6 separate regions of the Homo sapiens genome follow, and all the other regions are linked to region 2. Evidence: promoter capture Hi-C in 16 types of primary human blood cells and fetal thymus (Javierre and others, 2016). All regions are on one chromosome and are shown on one strand. The core of a region is centred on a gene start or on the middle of the fragment in contact, and the rest is flanking DNA. Distances in the headings are between cores, read along the strand shown.

Region 1 (2,822 bases), core at 314-2,813, 1.8 Mb after region 2:
GTGTGTCGGTGGTGTCATCCTACTGTGAGCAAGGCAGATGTGGAACAGATGGAAGGAAAGGGCATGTGATGTGAGGAGCTAGGGACCTCATCTTTCTCCATGACAGAGAATTGTGTCCAGTCTGGGCTAATGCCCCTGAAAAAAGAGATTGCAGAGGCTTCTCTAACATGGCTTATAAAAGAAATGAGAAAAGGAGAGGTGCAAGGCTGGCTCATTGCAGAGATTGGAGCGCTGAGCACACTGTTCACATCAAATGATGGCAAGGTGGTGTGGCACGTGTGTGTTGAATGAGATGATCATGTCTGCTAGTAGCTGATGAGAAGGGATCAGGTGCAGGCTAACGAAGGGGGATGTTTTTAGTAAGAAGAACATCTTCTGTTCCCTGGGACGAGGTATCTTAAATAAATCCGTTGTCACCTTGGAAAGCAAAGCCTCCCCAGGGTGGAGAGCAGAGAAGGGCAGGAGTCAGAGTGAGGCTCTGGAGTGTCGGCATCCTGGCCATCAGAAGCGATGTGAGATAAAGTGCCAAACAGGACACCAATCAGGGAGAGAAAAGGGACCACGCCGCAGGGCATGGTTTGTTCTAAAGAATGTGGCATGTTTTCTTGACTTGCTCAATAGTCTTCAACAGACATCACTATGTCCAGGATTCAGGAGTCCTCCAGAACTTTGGCTGCAAATGCTGATTATATGTGCTCTCTCCGTGGCTGGAAGATGTGCTAAAAATGGCCATTTCTGAGCTCTCTGGCTGCCATGACCCTCTTTGCTGGGAACCGTCATGTTGTACATAGGGATTACCAGGGTTTATGACTCCATGGCCTCTGAGAGAAATCTCTGCCTTGCAAATAAAATAGAAGGTATTAAAAGAAGGTAGTACTTTCTCTTATAGGGAGCTTTATGGGACTAAAAATATCATAGAAGATATCTTCATTGCTCCTTTGGAGCCTGCCCTGGCTTGCATTTCCTCACCGGAATTGTGTGGGATGTTGTTAAAGAGAGCAAACTTCCCCTTCTCTGCAGCCAGCCAGCCAGCCAGCCAGCCAGCCAGCCAGCCAGCCAGCCACCTCCTTTCTGCCCTGGATCAGATCTCATTCCACAGCCAGGCCTCATTTCCTGAGAGGCCACACATGCCACAAGCCCAGAGAGCAGACCTAAGGAAGAGTAAGCATTGGAACATGTGCTCTGCCAGAGGCCGAGTCAAGAGAGGATGCGAGCTGCTGACACCCTAGGCTTCCCCTGGCCAGCTCCCACCATGAGTCGGGACAGACACTGGGTGTGATTGCTTTGAGCACGTCTCCCCGTAACCATTTGAGAGGCCTACAGCCATGAAAAAAAAAAAATCACCTGCAGGAGATGAAAATGCAGTTCTGCTTCTGTTTCAGGTGCTAAACCTGCCCCTGGGATCTGCTTTGAGAGAGTCAATTCTGCAGGTGATCCTTATGGCAACTGTGGCAAAGTCTCGAAGAGTTCCTTTGCCAAATGCGAGATGAGGTATGGAATCCAGACATCCTGGCAAAGTCTTTGCTCTGACCTTCCCACATTGCATAGGGTTGGTTCCAAATGGTTTCTCCTTGGGAATTGTTTGTTCTTACCCTTCCAGAGATGCTAAATGTGGAAAAATCCAGTGTCAAGGAGGTGCCAGCCGGCCAGTCATTGGTACCAATGCCGTTTCCATAGAAACAAACATCCCCCTGCAGCAAGGAGGCCGGATTCTGTGCCGGGGGACCCACGTGTACTTGGGCGATGACATGCCGGACCCAGGGCTTGTGCTTGCAGGCACAAAGTGTGCAGATGGAAAAGTAAGACCCAAATGTTTGCTTGGATCATAAATGTAAGTCTGGAACAGGGCCCATTGAAAAACAGCAAGAACTGGGTTACAAGGTTTGTTGGTTTTCCTAAATCTACTTCTTCTCAGATGCACCTAGAAGAAAAAGTCAATAAATCCTAGATCCTGGTCTGACTATTAAAATGCAGATTGGGGAAAAATCAAGCCTGTCTTCTTAGGCCTTGAGTGTTAATAAGTCATTTCTACACTCCAGGTGGCATGAGGACTTCTAGCCAGGAAATTACTTTGGAAAGAAATACAATCGCATATTCTATTGGTTTTGGATATGTGGCTTGGTTTTTAGCACAGAGTTCTTGGGGGCTTGTCCTCACCTGAACAGAATGGGAAATCAGATGTATTTTTAGAACCCTGTAGAGAGAAGAATAGGAGAGGGAAAGGAGTGGAAGAAACTCAAAACCAGAGGGGAGTCCTTTCAGAGAACAGGGAGAAAGATACATGGAGATATTTTGAGGTTTAGAAATAAAGTCAAACTTTTTTTTTTTTTGGAAGAAAAAAAGAATTTGAGATTTTCATGCTCTGCCATACTGATTTTTTTTTTTTCACCAAACTTTCTCATCAGACTAAATGACAGCAAGCGAATACAATGTTTTAAGAAAAGGATGAAACAACCCCCAAATGCTTCTTAGGACTCCATTTTCAACATGGTCTTGAAATCACTCACTAACATGAGGTCACACAGGCAAGAAAAGACAGAGGCAGAGACAGAATCCTGAGGACAGGTGTTGCCTCCACTCTCCTGTCTTTGGCCCCACACACCCTGAGCCACAAATCCTTTTTCCTTGAGAAATAGGATCGTACATGAATCTTCTTATACATTCTGAATGTCTCCTTACCCACATTTGCTCATATTCAGGCCTTGACATTAAAATGACATCTGATATTTTTAGGCTCAAATCATATTTTGTCTTTTAACTTTTAGGTTCAGGGGTACATGTGCAGGTTTGTTATACAGGTAAACTTGTGTCATGGGGGCTTG
Region 2 (2,942 bases), core at 257-2,756:
AGGAAAGTGTGCACCTTCATTGTGTTAAGGGCATGGTGGGTGACTGGTATCTTTTTCTAATGAGCAGCTGGGCAATGTGTAGCAACAGCTTCAGTAACATTCACAGACTTTGACTCACTTCTAGAAGTCTAACCAAAGAAATAATCAGAGATATGGACAAAGGTTTATGCATAAGGATGTTCATGCATTGTTCTTCCTTAATCATAATTTTAAGATAGAAACAACATAAGTGTCCACAGTAGTAGAGTATGTGTGTACGTATCTCCAATAATTTATTGAACAAATGTTTGCTGAGTGTCTTCTCTGGGCCAGGCTCTTTGAGAGTTCCCTGGAATCCAGTGGTACACAAAACAAACATGTCCACCTCCCGGAGCATGTCATCTAGTTACAATAACGGAAAAGACAGATGATCAGCTAGTTCCACAAATAAGTTAGGTGTTAATGAAGAAAAGTAGAGGATGAAGTAATTGCGTTTTTTTGCCATTAAAAGTAAATGTAACTTTTAATGGCAAAAACTGCAATTACATTTGCACCAACTTAATATTATATTACTAAATAATCAAAGAATACAGTAAAAAGCGGTATGGAAAACATGCTATGAATGTCTATTTATCATCTCAAGAAATGATCTTTTCGCCAAATGGGAGAGTTTTTCGAAAGTCCAGAAATGACCATTTATAAACTATTTACCATTCAACAGAGTGGATACAGCTATAACGACCAAAAACAAGAATGTTCAGAACCATCTCTATCAGAGTACTAAAAAGTAATAAAGATGAAACTTCTCAAGATATAATTTAAATAATACGCAAATATGATCCAATTTGAAAGAGGAAATTTGAAAGCCAAACCTCTCTGATAAAGTCTAAAAATAGAGAGGTATAAAACATAAGGAGGTGTAAGCTTTTCTCTTTCCACTCCACAGTACATTTGACAAAGGTTTACCCTCCTTAGGATTCCTCTTGGAACAATTATAAGAGTCAAATCACTAATGAGTAAAGAAACTGAGCAATGCATAGCAAAAACTTCAGAAAAATCCACAGACTTCGTCAAACTTCTAGAAGTTTAAGCAAGGAAGCAAGTGGAGATATGAACAAAGGTTTATGCCTAAAGATATTTGGGTGTTGTTCTTTCTCAATCATAATTGTGAAATTGAAGCAACATAAATATCCACAATAGTGAAGTATATGTTTACATATTTCCAATAATTCTTGGAGGAGTTGGGGTTTCATGTTGTTGTCTGCTAGACTCAGCAACGCTTTGGGAATACAGATCCTCCACGCCCTATTATTTAGGAATTCTACTCCTGTCATGATATGGTAGGCTAAACTTGCTTCCATGACACTTGGCCAAGGATTATAAATTAATTGCATGATTGAGGAAGTCCCTGGGAAGACCATGCCCACCCCTTGTTCATGCTGGTTGGCTGTAACCATAGCAGCCTCTTACTCCAGACCAAAGTTCAGCTACTGTTAATTTTATGGCCATGTTCAGAGTTCAATGTCCATTAGCATAACCCTTCCTCAGGAAGAGTGAGATTTTATATTTGACAATAAAGTGTTAGACTCCATTTCTAAATACCAGACTTCAAAAGATAAGGTTCAAAAGTGTTATAAGAAGATATTCCTTTTTTTGTCCTAGAGAACTTATTTTCCTGTGAAAATGCCTACCACAAAGAAGACATTGATGTTCTTATCAAGCTTTTTCACCAGCCTTGGGTCCTTCATTGTAATTTGCTCTATTCTTGGGACACAAGCATGGATCACCAGTACAATTGCTGTTAGAGACTCTGCTTCAAATGGGAGCATTTTCATCACTTACGGACTTTTTCGTGGGGAGAGTAGTGAAGAATTGAGTCACGGACTTGCAGAACCAAAGAAAAAGTTTGCAGGTAAATGATAAACTAATTTGAATGAATATAGTGAGATTGAATTAAGGTTTATGTCATTCTATATTTGGGCCAAATAACCATTCAAAAATAATTTCTTTGTAAGTTTTGGGTTAGGCTGAAGGTACAAGCTTAACTCATAATTTTGGAAATTTGCCATGTCATTATTTGAGCTTCCTCGGTTCTCCTTGTGTCTATTAATACAATAGTCTATATCATTCTAGCAGTGGCTGTATTTAAATAATACCTACCAAGTTGACTGACAAGTAAATAAGTAAAAATATGTGGCAGCAATACGGCATTGAATAGCCAGTAGGAACACATGTTTTAACTGTATTGACTGGGTTTTTAGCTGGAGCCACAACCTCTGTCTAGAACTTCACAAGTGGCATCTATGCAGGAAAGAGTAAAATGGAAAATTTATTATCTCTATTTCTCAAGTTCATTTCTTTAACTGATTTTAATTTACCTCCAAAAAATCTAATCGTTGGAAATTATATTAAATTTCCATTAATTTATTAATTGTATATTTGATAGGAATTCCTAAACATTTTTTTTTCTGATTTCTTATATAATAATGCCCTCCTCTCCATGGAAGTAAAATTAAAAGTTCATTGAGAATAATAAGTTGATTTAGCTACTTATTTGACTTTTGAGGTTTGATAACCTACCTTCATGTTTTCTAAATTTAAAAACATTTGTAAATTATGTAACACATTAAGTGGACTTTGTTTTGAACAATGTTGTATGCAAGTATTATACAGGCATTATTGGGTATCATACAGTCATTACCTTTTGACTTATAAATATGCATCATTTTCTACCTTATACACATGTAATGTTTAGTCCTTGTGTAATGCATGAAGAAGTTTGAGTCCTAGACACTAGCTCTAAGTTCTAGCTCTAGTGTGTTTATGACTTTGTTAATGAAACTATTTTCTTAAATCCAAAGCAACCTGGTTATGTTCCCAAGTTATACATTTGTCATTTAGATGTTAGCAAAAGCAGCATCTCCCCTAGCATTGCCATAGCCTTTCAGGGACATCTCCTCTGG
Region 3 (2,700 bases), core at 17-2,516, 1.9 Mb after region 2:
TGTTAGTTTTGTCTCCCCTGCTACACTTTAAGTTTCTTACAGGCTGGGTCCATGTCTTACACTTCCTTTGAAACTTCTCCCTGTAACTCAATCCTTCTTGAGCCTCAAATATATCACAGATTTACTGCATTGTTCATTTAAAAAAAAAGGATCTTGTATTTCCCTTGAGCCAATGTCCCAAGTAGCTGACCAGCACCCTCTGAAGACCCAGGGGTCTTCCTGCAGTGCAGACCCACTGACGAAGACAGGGCTGCCCTGGTCTTGCCACCCCAGGCCAGTGGGGCACACAGCCAACAATTTCCCTTACACGAAGACCCCAGAGATATGCTAGGAGGCAGCCTGCAAGCTCACTTTCCCAACTTTATTTTCCAAATGTTTATAGAAAGCATGATGGAATTGGATAAACCTAGGTTTGAATATGTTCTCTGAAACTGAGTTAAAAATACCACAAAGTGTTTTGTGATAATTAAGTTACAAAGTATCTAAATAAATGATGGCATATTTCCTACAGTAAAATCCTATACAACAACTAAAAGAAATTAGCTGTATGAGTTTTGTATACACCTGCATCAACATAGATCAATTCAAAATGGATGGGTGGAAAACATGGGTTGCAAAAGGACACACTACATAACACGCAAAAAACACTACATGTTATTTATGAATGCACAGATATGTAGTAAAAGTTAAAAAGCTGAAGGGAAGAACATACACCACCTCAACAACATAACGGAAGGGATGGGGGCATGATGGGCAGGAGGGGGGTCTTACCAGTATATTTGTAAGGTTTGATTTCTTCATGAAAAGACTTTATGACATATATGGCAAAATGTTAACATCTTAAACCAAATGGTACATTGAGTACATTACCATTTGAAATAATTTTGATATGTTTAAAATATTAGTTTTTGAAAAATAACCATAAAAATCAACAGTATACATTACCCTTATGGGCCTCTTGGTTTTCTTAGAGAAACCAATTTCAGGGTTCTAGATACTGAGGGATACATGTGGAAGAAGGAACTACTGAACCAGACACTGACCTCTTACTGTGAGTCATCTCACTGAATCCCAGCAATTCTGGCTGGTGATGTCACAATGACTCACATCTTCACGTCCTTGTATCACGACATCAGTGTTGAACAAATGATTTTTTTCACAGCCCACTAAAACCAAACACCAGGAATGGTAGACTGTTATGGATTACCCCCAAAATAACCAGAAGCCAACAAGTATTTCAATTCCAAAGACATCCAGCCTAGAATCCTACTAGAGATCAGAACAGGCAAGAAATTCTAAATTAATGTCAAATTTCAAAACAGTTCACCATGAAGTTATATGAGGAGTAAAAAGATAACATTCCCAGAGACCCAAAAGTTTCTTATGGCTTGTTCTTTACTGATCATTGATGTAGGTACATAATGAGAGATCTCCATCAGTGAGCTTGGCACCAGCCACAGGTGGCCCACTGCCACCAGAGCTGGGCACAGGCCCACTTCCAGCTGCTACTCATGATGGAGCAAAAACCCTCACTTCTAGCCATCACCCCTCCAGATCTGGTACAGAGCCCGGAAAAGGTGGGTGTGGTGCTTGGAAAGTTGGTTCGTGTGTGTGTGTGTGTGTGTGTGTGTGTGTGTGTGTGTGTTGGGGGCAGGTAGTGATCCAAATGTAATGGCAGCATGGTCTCTCCAAGGAAGCCTTAGGTGTGAGTGAAGCCTCAGTGAACACACACACGTGTCAGCAATGGACCAGCTGCTGCCAAATCACACAACTACGCAACACGTTGCTCAGAAATGCCAATGGTTAGTGTACGCCCCACTGATAATGTTCCTGCATCTTCTTTACTTTCATACAAAACTCATCAAGATGTAAATCTCCACTTAGGCAAGAGTTGCTTTTTGCAAAAAGCTATTATTGCCAGATAGGACCTGGATGGTCAGGTCATGAATGAATGACCTCATCAGGTAAGAGCTAGTTATTTTCAGAATGCCAAAAAATAGTGGATGGGACCCAATTTGTTTTGCTTTGTTTCTAAGCCAACCTAGAGTAATTTGACAGGTGTATCCTAATCCTTACAATATTAACCCATATACTTTCTACTTTCTCTTTGATAAAAATTCTGGTGTTTTTGTCATCATCTGCTAATATACATATTTTAGGATATTGGTTTTAGGATCCTAAATATGTATATTTACAGGTGACTAGCAGAGTGCAAACATTACTATGACAATGGAGCAGAGGCCCGGGGCGGCACCGAGCCTTGGTAAGAGCCGACAGAAATGGCAGGTCACAGGCCGTCACTGAGGAGAACTGCAATGCGGCAACACTTATATGACACTTAATTTGGGTCATGTACTAGTGTGGATGCTTTATTTATTCATTTAACTTTCACCACATTTAACTTCACCAACTCTATATGCTGTAAGGATTTTTATTATCTCCCTTATAAACAATCTGAGGCACAGAGAAGTTACATAACTTGCCCAAGGTCACACAGAAATAACTGGTAGAACCAGGATTAAAATGAAGATAATCTGGCTCAGAAGTCCCTTACTTTTAACCTTGTACCATACTGCCTCTTAAGAGTAGAGATATAAAATGTAGACCGGAGCGGCCGGGCGCAGTGGCTCACACCTGTAATCCCAGCACTTTACTTTCGGAGGCCAAGGTGGACGAATCACAAAGTCACGAGATCGAGAC
Region 4 (2,857 bases), core at 150-2,649, 1.8 Mb after region 2:
ATCATGTTTGATTAGAAGCCTCTATCCTGTTACAGGCTTGCTAAGTCAGCAGAAAGAACTAGCGTATTCTGTGCAGGTCTGTCTACTGGGCTAGGAAGAAAGGGTGGTACCATTTCAGACATGCCCACTGTCCATTATTAACCACTGCATCTGTCCATGTCTACGAGAGTCTGCTCCTCCAACAACCCCCACACAAATTCAGCAGTCATTTCTTGCAATGAAGCTGAGTAGCTCGTCTGATACATGGCCTCTGATGGGCTGAGGTCCTTTTAATATGGACACTGTGTCCCCCGCCCCTGGGTTCTTGGTCTTTCAGGACTTGGTGCAGGAAGAAATAGCCATCGTAGCTCAGAAGTGAAAAGTCCACTTTCTGGTAACGTCCAGAAGCTTCCTGTACATGTCTCAACTGACCAGAGCTCAGTTGGTGACTTTATTAAAAATTCTGGGAAATTATATTTGCACTTAAATTGGTTTCAGGGAGGAGGAGCAGAGGTCAAAGTTCACAAGTTAAGACCATGAATTATAATGTGCTGCAGATGGCTGCATTCTGGGGCCCAGGTGTTTGCTATTAACAATGGAAATGGCCTACTAAGGATCTTTCTGGTCATTTGCTCCTGGCCTGGTGGTTTTCTTAGCTTTCTGTGGTCCGTCTGGTTGGCCCACTGGCTCAGCGTCCAGTTATAAGGCAGTCACTTTCTGTTTCTGGAGTGGACGTGAGGATGGATTGCCCCATTAGCTTCAGCCTCGGTTCTGTTCTATCGTTTGAGCCTGTGTGGTCAGAGCTGTGTCCCTGTGCACCGCTGGGCAGGCAGAGTGGGCTGACTCAGGCCCAGCTCCCTCTCCCATCACACCATGAGGAGGAGTCACGAGGCTTTTGAGGCGGGGCGCCTATTTCCCCTGCCTGCAGCTCATTAGGGTCTCAACAGGCTTGCAGCCCTCCTCAGGTGTGCACGATCTGGCCCAGGTATCACCTCAGGCTAGCTGGATGAATCCCAAGACTGGGCCTTTGTCTTCTGTTACACCAAAGACCTTTAGGGAAGTCCTCTAAGGTACACCTGGAAGGAAGTGTAGAACCTTGGGTGTTCCTTCTGTTTACGTCTGGCTCCAGGGAGTCCCGAGGCATCGGAGCAGCTGCCTCTCCCAACCCATGGATACTACTGCTGCTGGCATAGCCATTTGTGCTGGGTCATGCCTGAGGCTGCCCAGAGGCCCTGCCCTGGGGCAGCTCCTGATAGCCCTCGAGACGGTGTGGTTGAGTGGGAAGAACACAGGCCTTCTAGTCAGATCTGTGCTTTCAGTCTCCACGCAGGAACTGCAGGGTCCCGGCAAGGAACCCAAGCTGCCTGCACTCAGCTTCCTCATCTCTAAAATAGGAGTCATAATTGGCTCCCAGAGGTGTCAGTGAGAGAATGTCTGCCAGGCTTCTGGTCCCCAGCAGGGTTTCACTAAACAAATGGTGGCTCCTGGCCAGCCCCGCTCCAGGCAGCATGGAGTAAAAAGCCCCTAAAATGAGATGACCTCCTTGCATCCACAGCAGGCCTGCCACGGCACTGAACATGAGGCCGGTCACCTGCGAGTACAAATGCCACCGCCCTGGCCTACCAGGCGTGCTACTTGGTTGCACATAAATTCTGTGTGTGGTGATTGAAAGTTTTTATTGTTGGGCATAACTGGGGAAAGACCTGAAGATTTTCCTGAAGATGGCCCTAGAATTTTTGGTCAGCAGCTTGTCCAAGCAATGTCCATTCCCCACACTGTGGTCCCCTGCCCCCTCATACTGTAAGAGGACCTCGCTCTCACTTGGGAAGAGAAGAGGGAATTCATGTTGGGCTTATGCTTCTCAAGGGACTAGGAATATGTAGAACTGGCTGTGAACTAAGAATGGCTAAGTTGTTTTTGGAAAAGCTCAGCAAGCTAGTTATGGAATGAATGATAAAAGTTGTGGCCGGCATGGTGGCTCACGCCTGTAATCCCAGCACTTTGGGAGGCCGAGGTGGGTGGATCACCCGAGGTCAGGAGTTTGAGACCAGCCTGGCCAACATGGCAAAACCCCATCTCTAATAAAAATACAAAAAAATTAGCCAGGCATGGTGGTGTGCACCTGTAATCCCAGCTACTCAGGAAGCTGAGGCAGGAGAATCGCTTGAACCCGGGAGGCGGAAGTTACGGTGAGCCGAGATCGCACCACTGAACTCCAACCTGGGCTACAGAGCGAAACTCCACATAAAAAAAAAAAAAAAAAAAAAAAACAGTCATTAGATTGTCTTCTCCAGAGAATGGATCCCACAATTTGTGGCCACGTCTCACTCTGAGCTCAGTGCCTGGACTTGGCTGTGGCCAGGAAATGGACGGAAGATGTGGGGTGAGCTCATGTGACATGAGCTTTATGAAAAGGGCCAGAAAAAAGCTTTCAGGAACAGAAGACAACCACAGCTGCGTAGCAGGTAACAGCCATCTAAATGGCGTTTTTGTTTTGTTTGTGGATTGCTTCATTGGTTGGTTGTGCTCCTAACTACATGCTCTTGTTGAGCTAAAGAAAAACTGGCCCTTCCAGAATGGAACAGGCTGTTTTGCTTCTTTGACACCATCTATGTATTAAACGGAGGGAATGATCTTTAACTGTTTGCTCATCCCTTCGCCTCCTGAATCATCTTGCTCTCAAATTTACTTGTATTTGTGGTTTTACAGTGTAAAGCGTGCTCTATTTTGGCTACAAGTACTACATTCTATACCATATTGGAAATGTTCTTGAGCACTATCATATACGGGGGGATTCGCAGTCAGGGCAACTCCCAATGGGAGAAAGAAAGACACATCTTTTGCCTGTCAGTACTAGGAGCTAGCATTTCACAGTGCT
Region 5 (2,724 bases), core at 8-2,507, 1.8 Mb after region 2:
GTTAGCCAGAGCTGAGACTTTGCTGAAAAATTAATACAGATTCATTTTCAGTAACTAATAAGCAGAACATTTTGCTCAAAATGAACAAGTTATTGTCCTTGGCAGAAGTGTCTGAAAGATCCTAATTCACTTATTGTTTCACTTGCAGTGGATATTAACTGGCCATCTTTAGCTATAATACACATCTGTATGTACATTTTAAATCACCAGTGAGTCATTTGAAATGTATGCTTCCATACAAATGCAAGTAGACAGTAAAAAAGCTGATAACTTCAGCATCTAATTGGTCAATCTTCGAGAACCTAGTTAACACATCACTTTGCATTAGGCACTGCAAATATTTCTTAAATTCCAACACCACAGGAACCAAAGAGCACAGAGATATTTTTCTCACCTGTGTCAGTGACCCTCAAATAACGCAAATCTGTTCTAATTTTCATTTCGAGTTTTTATTAACGTGATCCCAACTCCAATGCCAGTTTTGCCTGTTTTGCCCAGTTTTACAGACCACTGAACATTCGGATCGTGTTGGTAGGCGTGGAAGTGTGGAATGACATGGACAAATGCTCTGTAAGTCAGGACCCATTCACCAGCCTCCATGAATTTCTGGACTGGAGGAAGATGAAGCTTCTACCTCGCAAATCCCATGACAATGCGCAGCTTGTCAGGTAGGGAGTTACGTCTTGTCTGCTTAAAAAAAAAAGGAGTGCTCTCGGCGAAGCCCTTCGTTTCACCTGCACAGCCCCAGGAGCTGCCACCTTTCTGCAGAGCACACTGCCTTGTGCAAGGGGGCTTCTCAGCTCACACCAGGGGGGCAGATGCCACCCTCACCTGGAACTGAAGGTCTGCTAGGAAAGTCTCCCTCTGAACACCCTGGAAAACCTGTCCCTCTACAGAACTCTCATTTCCTTCTTCTAGAACCCGGACATTTTCTTCTATACCAATTTTTCTGATTTTAGCTGTGATGTAAAGTTGTTCTGAGTAGCCTATTTTTTTGTTTTGTTTTTTGTTTGTTTGTTTGTTTTTGAGACAGAGTCTCTCTCTGTCACCAGGCTGGAGTGCAGTGGCATGATCTCAGCTCACTGCAACCTCCAGCTCCCTGGTTTAAGTGATTCTCCTGCCTCAACCTCCCGAGTAGCTGAGATTACAGGCACACGCCACCACGCCCAGCTAATTTTTGTATTTTTTTTTTTTTTTTTTAGTAGAGACAGGGTTTCACCATGTTGGCCAAGATGGTCTCAATCTCCTGACCTCATGATCCGCCCACCTCGGCCTCCCAAAGTGCTGGGATTACAGGCATGAGCCACCGCGCCAGGCCGAGGAGCCTGTTTTTAAAGATTCATCATTATTAGTGGAAAATGTATGTTTATACAATATCTAAGGACAGTACTTTGGGTGAATACTGTCAGATTCCTGGAGGGAAAAAAGACTTTATTCCTCCTCCTGTTGTGGCTGTGACTCTTTGGTTTTCTAGATCAGAGAATACCGGGAAGCATAGCACATTAACCTTGTGTTCCCTCTTTAAATCAATATGCATCACCCGTTAGGAACCAAAGAGTGTTTGGGGGGCTTTGAACACAGTGGTGACCAACACTGTAAATCTCCCTGCTCTCAGAAGTCTCCACTCTACTGAGAGACAACAATAAAGAGGACAATTTCAGCAGGATCAACTGGAAGATGATAAACTAAGGCAAAGCATAGCTCTATTATAACACAAAAATTGTTGAGATGTTGCCGATGCTTTTATACTTAAAAAAAAAAGGAACAATCTAAATTAGTATGAAGTAGATGTTTCTAGAAGTGACAAATTTTTATTTAAATCTTTAAATACTTTGTGCTATTATTCTTTTGTTGTCATGTGGCTTATAGCACAGAAAGGAAAGCTTCTGGGACAGAGACTTTCCTTTGACAAACCCAATGTAGCTATTGAACATTTGTGGAAAGTTAAAAAACCAGTCCTACCCCATTGTCACTTCAGAAAATGCCTACGTCTGAACTGAGGCTGTTGGCATTCTTTGATAATTTACTTCGGCCATTTTCACAGGGTTCCCCCCTGCCCCTACCCTTGGATATTTGTGGTTGCCTCACATTTTATGCATTGATTAGTCTTGAACTACTAAAAGTACATTTTATGTATTTTGAGTCAGAGTGTTTTGATATTTTTCCCAAATGGAGTCTGTCCAACTTGAACATCTGGAAATAAATTATCATCTTATGTAACTTTATTATTTATATACATGTATAATTATATCTGTTCATATAGTCTATATAGATGTAAATAAAGGCCGAAATTTCTACCACTGTAAATATAAGTATAGTGGGATAGGTGGATAGAGAGGGAGGGAGGGAGAGAGGGAGGGAGAGAGGGAGGGAGGGAAGGAGGGAGAAGGTTTTATATACACTTACCACTTTCTGTTCAATTGACCATAGCTAAAATATCTAACTTTTCAAACAATATATCTGTATACATACATGGCCAAGATAGCATTGGTAAGTCATTTGACTCCTTTAAAGGAAATTCAACAAATACAGCGTTTTGTTTTTCATGCATGAGGTTGGAATTAACAGCACTTGTGTTCAACAGGCCCTTGGTGTCATTAGATTCATGATCAGGTTAAGATTCCAGATAGAAGGACGACTGCATTGAAGCCATGAAGTCCCCTTCCAGAAGCTTCCTCCCTAGGTGCCAAGGCTTTGTGGGTGCTCACTTGTTCTACACCGGCT
Region 6 (2,700 bases), core at 19-2,518, 2.0 Mb after region 2:
GGCGGGAATATACACAGCCTGCCATCAGTTTGACATAAAACAAAAATTTTAGCGTTCTTGTATGCTAAATTTCTTTTACTAGGTTAAAAAAATGTAGAATCCAAAGAGCTGTAAATGCAAATGACAAATACTGTACAAAATCTATCAAGCAACTATAAGTCACAACTTGCAAGCTTTCTCCTCAGCAAATGAGTTAAAAGGAAAAGTATTTGAAACTTTCTTGGTGGAAAACGAATGACCTTTAAAAATGCCAACATTTTCCCCAGAGAATAGATTTGGTCTGAGTTCTTCATTTCTGAAATTGTACAAGATAAGACGACTTGGTTTGAGAGTCAAACTGCATCCTTCTATAAAGGTTTTAGATAAATTTTAAGTCTCCATACAAAACACTCCCCTTATTTTGAGAACAAAAGGAACAATAAGACAGCTTAGGCGGGGCAGAGAAAGAAAGGCCTTGAAACAAAGTCCCTGGAAAGGTAAAAACAACAACAAAAATAGTAAGTTAGAGCTCGTGTTTAGATCTGATAACTCAAAACTGCACAACTTTTGCCATACATCGAAAGCAACATGGGAAAACAGAAAAAGAGATTACAAACATTTTTTGAGTGTCCTAACTTGTAGAACCCCTAAGAATGAATCAAATACACTTGGACAAAGCTCTTCTTTTCTCTCTCTCTCCTTCAAGTCGCAGACTAGGGGTGTGGGGCGGGGGGCGGGGAGTAAGACGGGGTCTCTAATAAATACAAGACCCAGCCTCGGACGTGTTTAATTGCTGACATTTTAGAAGAAAAATGGGCTACTTACAATTAATGAACCAAACTACCAAACTAAAATCATGAGTAGGAGGAGGAGTAAATGGAACCGTCCGGGCGAAGTTTCAGGAAGACGCACGCTGGGGTCGCTGCGCCCTTCCCCACCCATACCTCGGGGCTCTCCAGTCGCTCCCAGCCCCCAGCGCGGACTCTAGGGCGCCGGCGGCCCAACCATACAGACTTGGCAGGATGTAGCCCCCTTCTCCCCTCTCCAGGAGAGAAAAGCGCGAGGAGACGCAAACCGTATTTCCGTGTCCGAGCGTTGAAACCTGCGGAGTCGCGCGCGGGGCGCCCACACTCGTTCCCGGGGAGCCCCAGCCCGGTCGCCCGCCCCGGTCCCAGCTCCAGCCCGGGCCTCCCTTACTCTGGGGCTCCATGGTCGGCTGCTCCCCGGCCTCCGCGGGCGAACCCCCGGACTCCTAACGCCTCTCAGCCAGGGCCGGCGTCGCTACGGTTGCCCTGACAACCCGGAGGCGAAGTGGGCAGAACTAAAGGGACGGCGAGCGGGAGGGACCAAAAGCCGCAGGAAGTGAGGGAGCGCGTGAGGACCCGCGCGTCGCCGGGGACACTGAGCGAGGGTAGCGGCCAGGTCACCGGCTGAGGACACTGCTCCTGAAGCCCGGTCAGGCGGTCGCGCCCTCCCTGGCGGCCCCCGCGGCCCCGCAGGACCTGTGCCCCGACGTCGCCGACCCGCGGTCCCCGCTGTCGCCGACCCGCGGCGTCCGTCGGGCGAGTGGGCCTGCCCGCGGGTAAGGCGCCGGCCCTGGGCCGCCCTCCCGGGAATCGGGAGCCGCCGCTGCAGGTAACAGCGGGGCCCCGGCGGCGGAAGGGGTCGGGGGTCGGCGCAGGGGCGGGCGCGCCCCGAGCCGGGTGGGCGGCCCCGGCGCACCTGTTGTAGCCGCCTGGGGGTCCCCTGCCCGCAGTTGGCCGTGGACGTTCCCCGCCCCGACTCCGAAACGCCGAGGGCGGCCTCCGCGCCTCCTGCTCCGGGAGCCGCGCCTCAGCGGGAGGACGGAGCCCTGCGGGCAGCCCTCGCACCAGGGGCTCCCTCCGAGCCCGGGCATGGGCCGGGCCTGGGGCGGTCCCTCGAGCCCCCCTGACGGGAAGCGTGGAGCAATGCGAGCCGCCGCCGTCGTCGCTGTCGTCCCCAGTGAGCCTGGCGCGTCTCCTGAATCGCGAGAGCCAGGAGCACGGTTTTGCCCGGCTTTGCCCCGTCATCCCCGTGTCCCATTTCAGGCAGGGGGCCCGGGTTGGATCTTTCTCGCTGGCTTCGTTTTTTGTGTGTTGATTTGTTTCAGTCCTTCGCGTTTCCGGTTGAGTTACGGAATCTGCCCACACGTTTTGTGGCCAAACTTTGTAGGGCTGTGAAACAATGTAACATTATCCCACACAATAGTCTTTCATACTGGTTTTAAAACACAGTGATTCAGGGTTTGCTTTAAGGAAGCTTTGAGGATCACAAGAGATTATTATCTGGTAGGTTGTAAAAATTCAAACAACCAGGAGAGTATCATAGGTTCCGGAACACCAGAAGGAGGAAAGAAAAATGGAGACGAGAGAAAAAGGATAAGCAAGAAAGTGCAGGGGCATTAAGGGTGTGGGGGGCTGCAGGATTGATTTGGTATTCAGGTCTGGAGATTATGGCCCCTCTATTAATTCCAACCGCTGCTCCAGACAGTACTTGAGGGAAATGGAAGGAAGAGCCGTTTTGGGGGTCATGGAAGTGATTACTAATCTTGCCAGTAGAAAGATTTCCACTCCATGGATGACAAGGACACTAAGGAGAATTACTTTCCTCTTAGGGAATCATTGAGAGGTTAATTGAACTTGAGAAGCATATATTCTGTGATGGAAACTGACATTTATTATATTCTTCCAAATTAGGTTT

What was found. The method cuts DNA at HindIII sites, captures the fragments that hold promoters and counts their contacts. A CHiCAGO score of 5 or more calls a contact.
Region 1: a fragment that was not itself captured here is called in contact with the fragment with the promoter of CLRN3 in region 2 in 4 of 17 cell types (M2 macrophages, M0 macrophages, monocytes and 1 more); the score reaches 11.4 in M2 macrophages.
Region 3: a contact is called between the fragment with the promoter of FANK1-AS1 here and the fragment with the promoter of CLRN3 in region 2, in 9 of 17 cell types (non-activated CD4 T cells, naive CD8 T cells, activated CD4 T cells and 6 more). The highest score is 15.3, in non-activated CD4 T cells.
Region 4: a contact is called between a fragment that was not itself captured here and the fragment with the promoter of CLRN3 in region 2, in 2 of 17 cell types (M0 macrophages and M1 macrophages). The highest score is 7.1, in M0 macrophages.
Region 5: a fragment that was not itself captured here is called in contact with the fragment with the promoter of CLRN3 in region 2 in 2 of 17 cell types (M0 macrophages and M1 macrophages); the score reaches 12.7 in M0 macrophages.
Region 6: the fragment with the promoter of FANK1 here is called in contact with the fragment with the promoter of CLRN3 in region 2 in 4 of 17 cell types (M0 macrophages, naive CD8 T cells, activated CD4 T cells and 1 more); the score reaches 6.9 in M0 macrophages.

The regions. Positions count from the first base shown.
Region 1 is chr10:126,048,230-126,051,051 of GRCh38, reverse strand. ADAM12 (ADAM metallopeptidase domain 12) reads left to right here. Exons shown (of 23, transcript NM_001288973.2): 15 at 1,383-1,491; 16 at 1,601-1,799. Among named protein-coding and RNA genes, the nearest start is that of FANK1-AS1, 76 kb to the right of the region's middle. RefSeq lists an enhancer at 1,254-1,754. The HindIII fragment of the contact is 6,518 bases long and covers 1-2,822 here.
Region 2 is chr10:127,891,505-127,894,446 of GRCh38, reverse strand. CLRN3 (clarin 3) reads left to right here and starts at 1,506. Exons shown (of 3, transcript NM_152311.5): 1 at 1,506-1,891. The coding sequence starts at 1,663. The HindIII fragment of the contact is 797 bases long and covers 906-1,702 here.
Region 3 is chr10:125,971,839-125,974,538 of GRCh38, reverse strand. It overlaps FANK1-AS1 (FANK1 antisense RNA 1), which reads left to right and starts at 1,266. Exons shown (of 4, transcript NR_102707.1): 1 at 1,266-1,285; 2 at 1,415-1,577; 3 at 1,694-1,802; 4 at 2,198-2,351. All of the region lies in intron 1 of FANK1 (fibronectin type III and ankyrin repeat domains 1), which reads right to left. The HindIII fragment of the contact is 7,061 bases long and covers 1-2,700 here.
Region 4 is chr10:126,081,756-126,084,612 of GRCh38, reverse strand. The region is part of intron 11 of ADAM12 (ADAM metallopeptidase domain 12); the gene reads left to right. Among named protein-coding and RNA genes, the nearest start is that of FANK1-AS1, 110 kb to the right of the region's middle. The HindIII fragment of the contact is 2,020 bases long and covers 390-2,409 here.
Region 5 is chr10:126,099,016-126,101,739 of GRCh38, reverse strand. It overlaps ADAM12 (ADAM metallopeptidase domain 12), which reads left to right. Exons shown (of 23, transcript NM_001288973.2): 9 at 499-668. Among named protein-coding and RNA genes, the nearest start is that of FANK1-AS1, 130 kb to the right of the region's middle. The HindIII fragment of the contact is 1,256 bases long and covers 630-1,885 here.
Region 6 is chr10:125,895,132-125,897,831 of GRCh38, reverse strand. It overlaps FANK1 (fibronectin type III and ankyrin repeat domains 1), which reads right to left and starts at 1,268. Exons shown (of 11, transcript NM_145235.5): 1 at 1,177-1,268. The coding sequence starts at 1,189. It also overlaps a transcript of DHX32 not described here. RefSeq lists silencers at 698-992, 1,084-1,223, 1,384-1,463, 1,684-1,763. The HindIII fragment of the contact is 2,086 bases long and covers 176-2,261 here.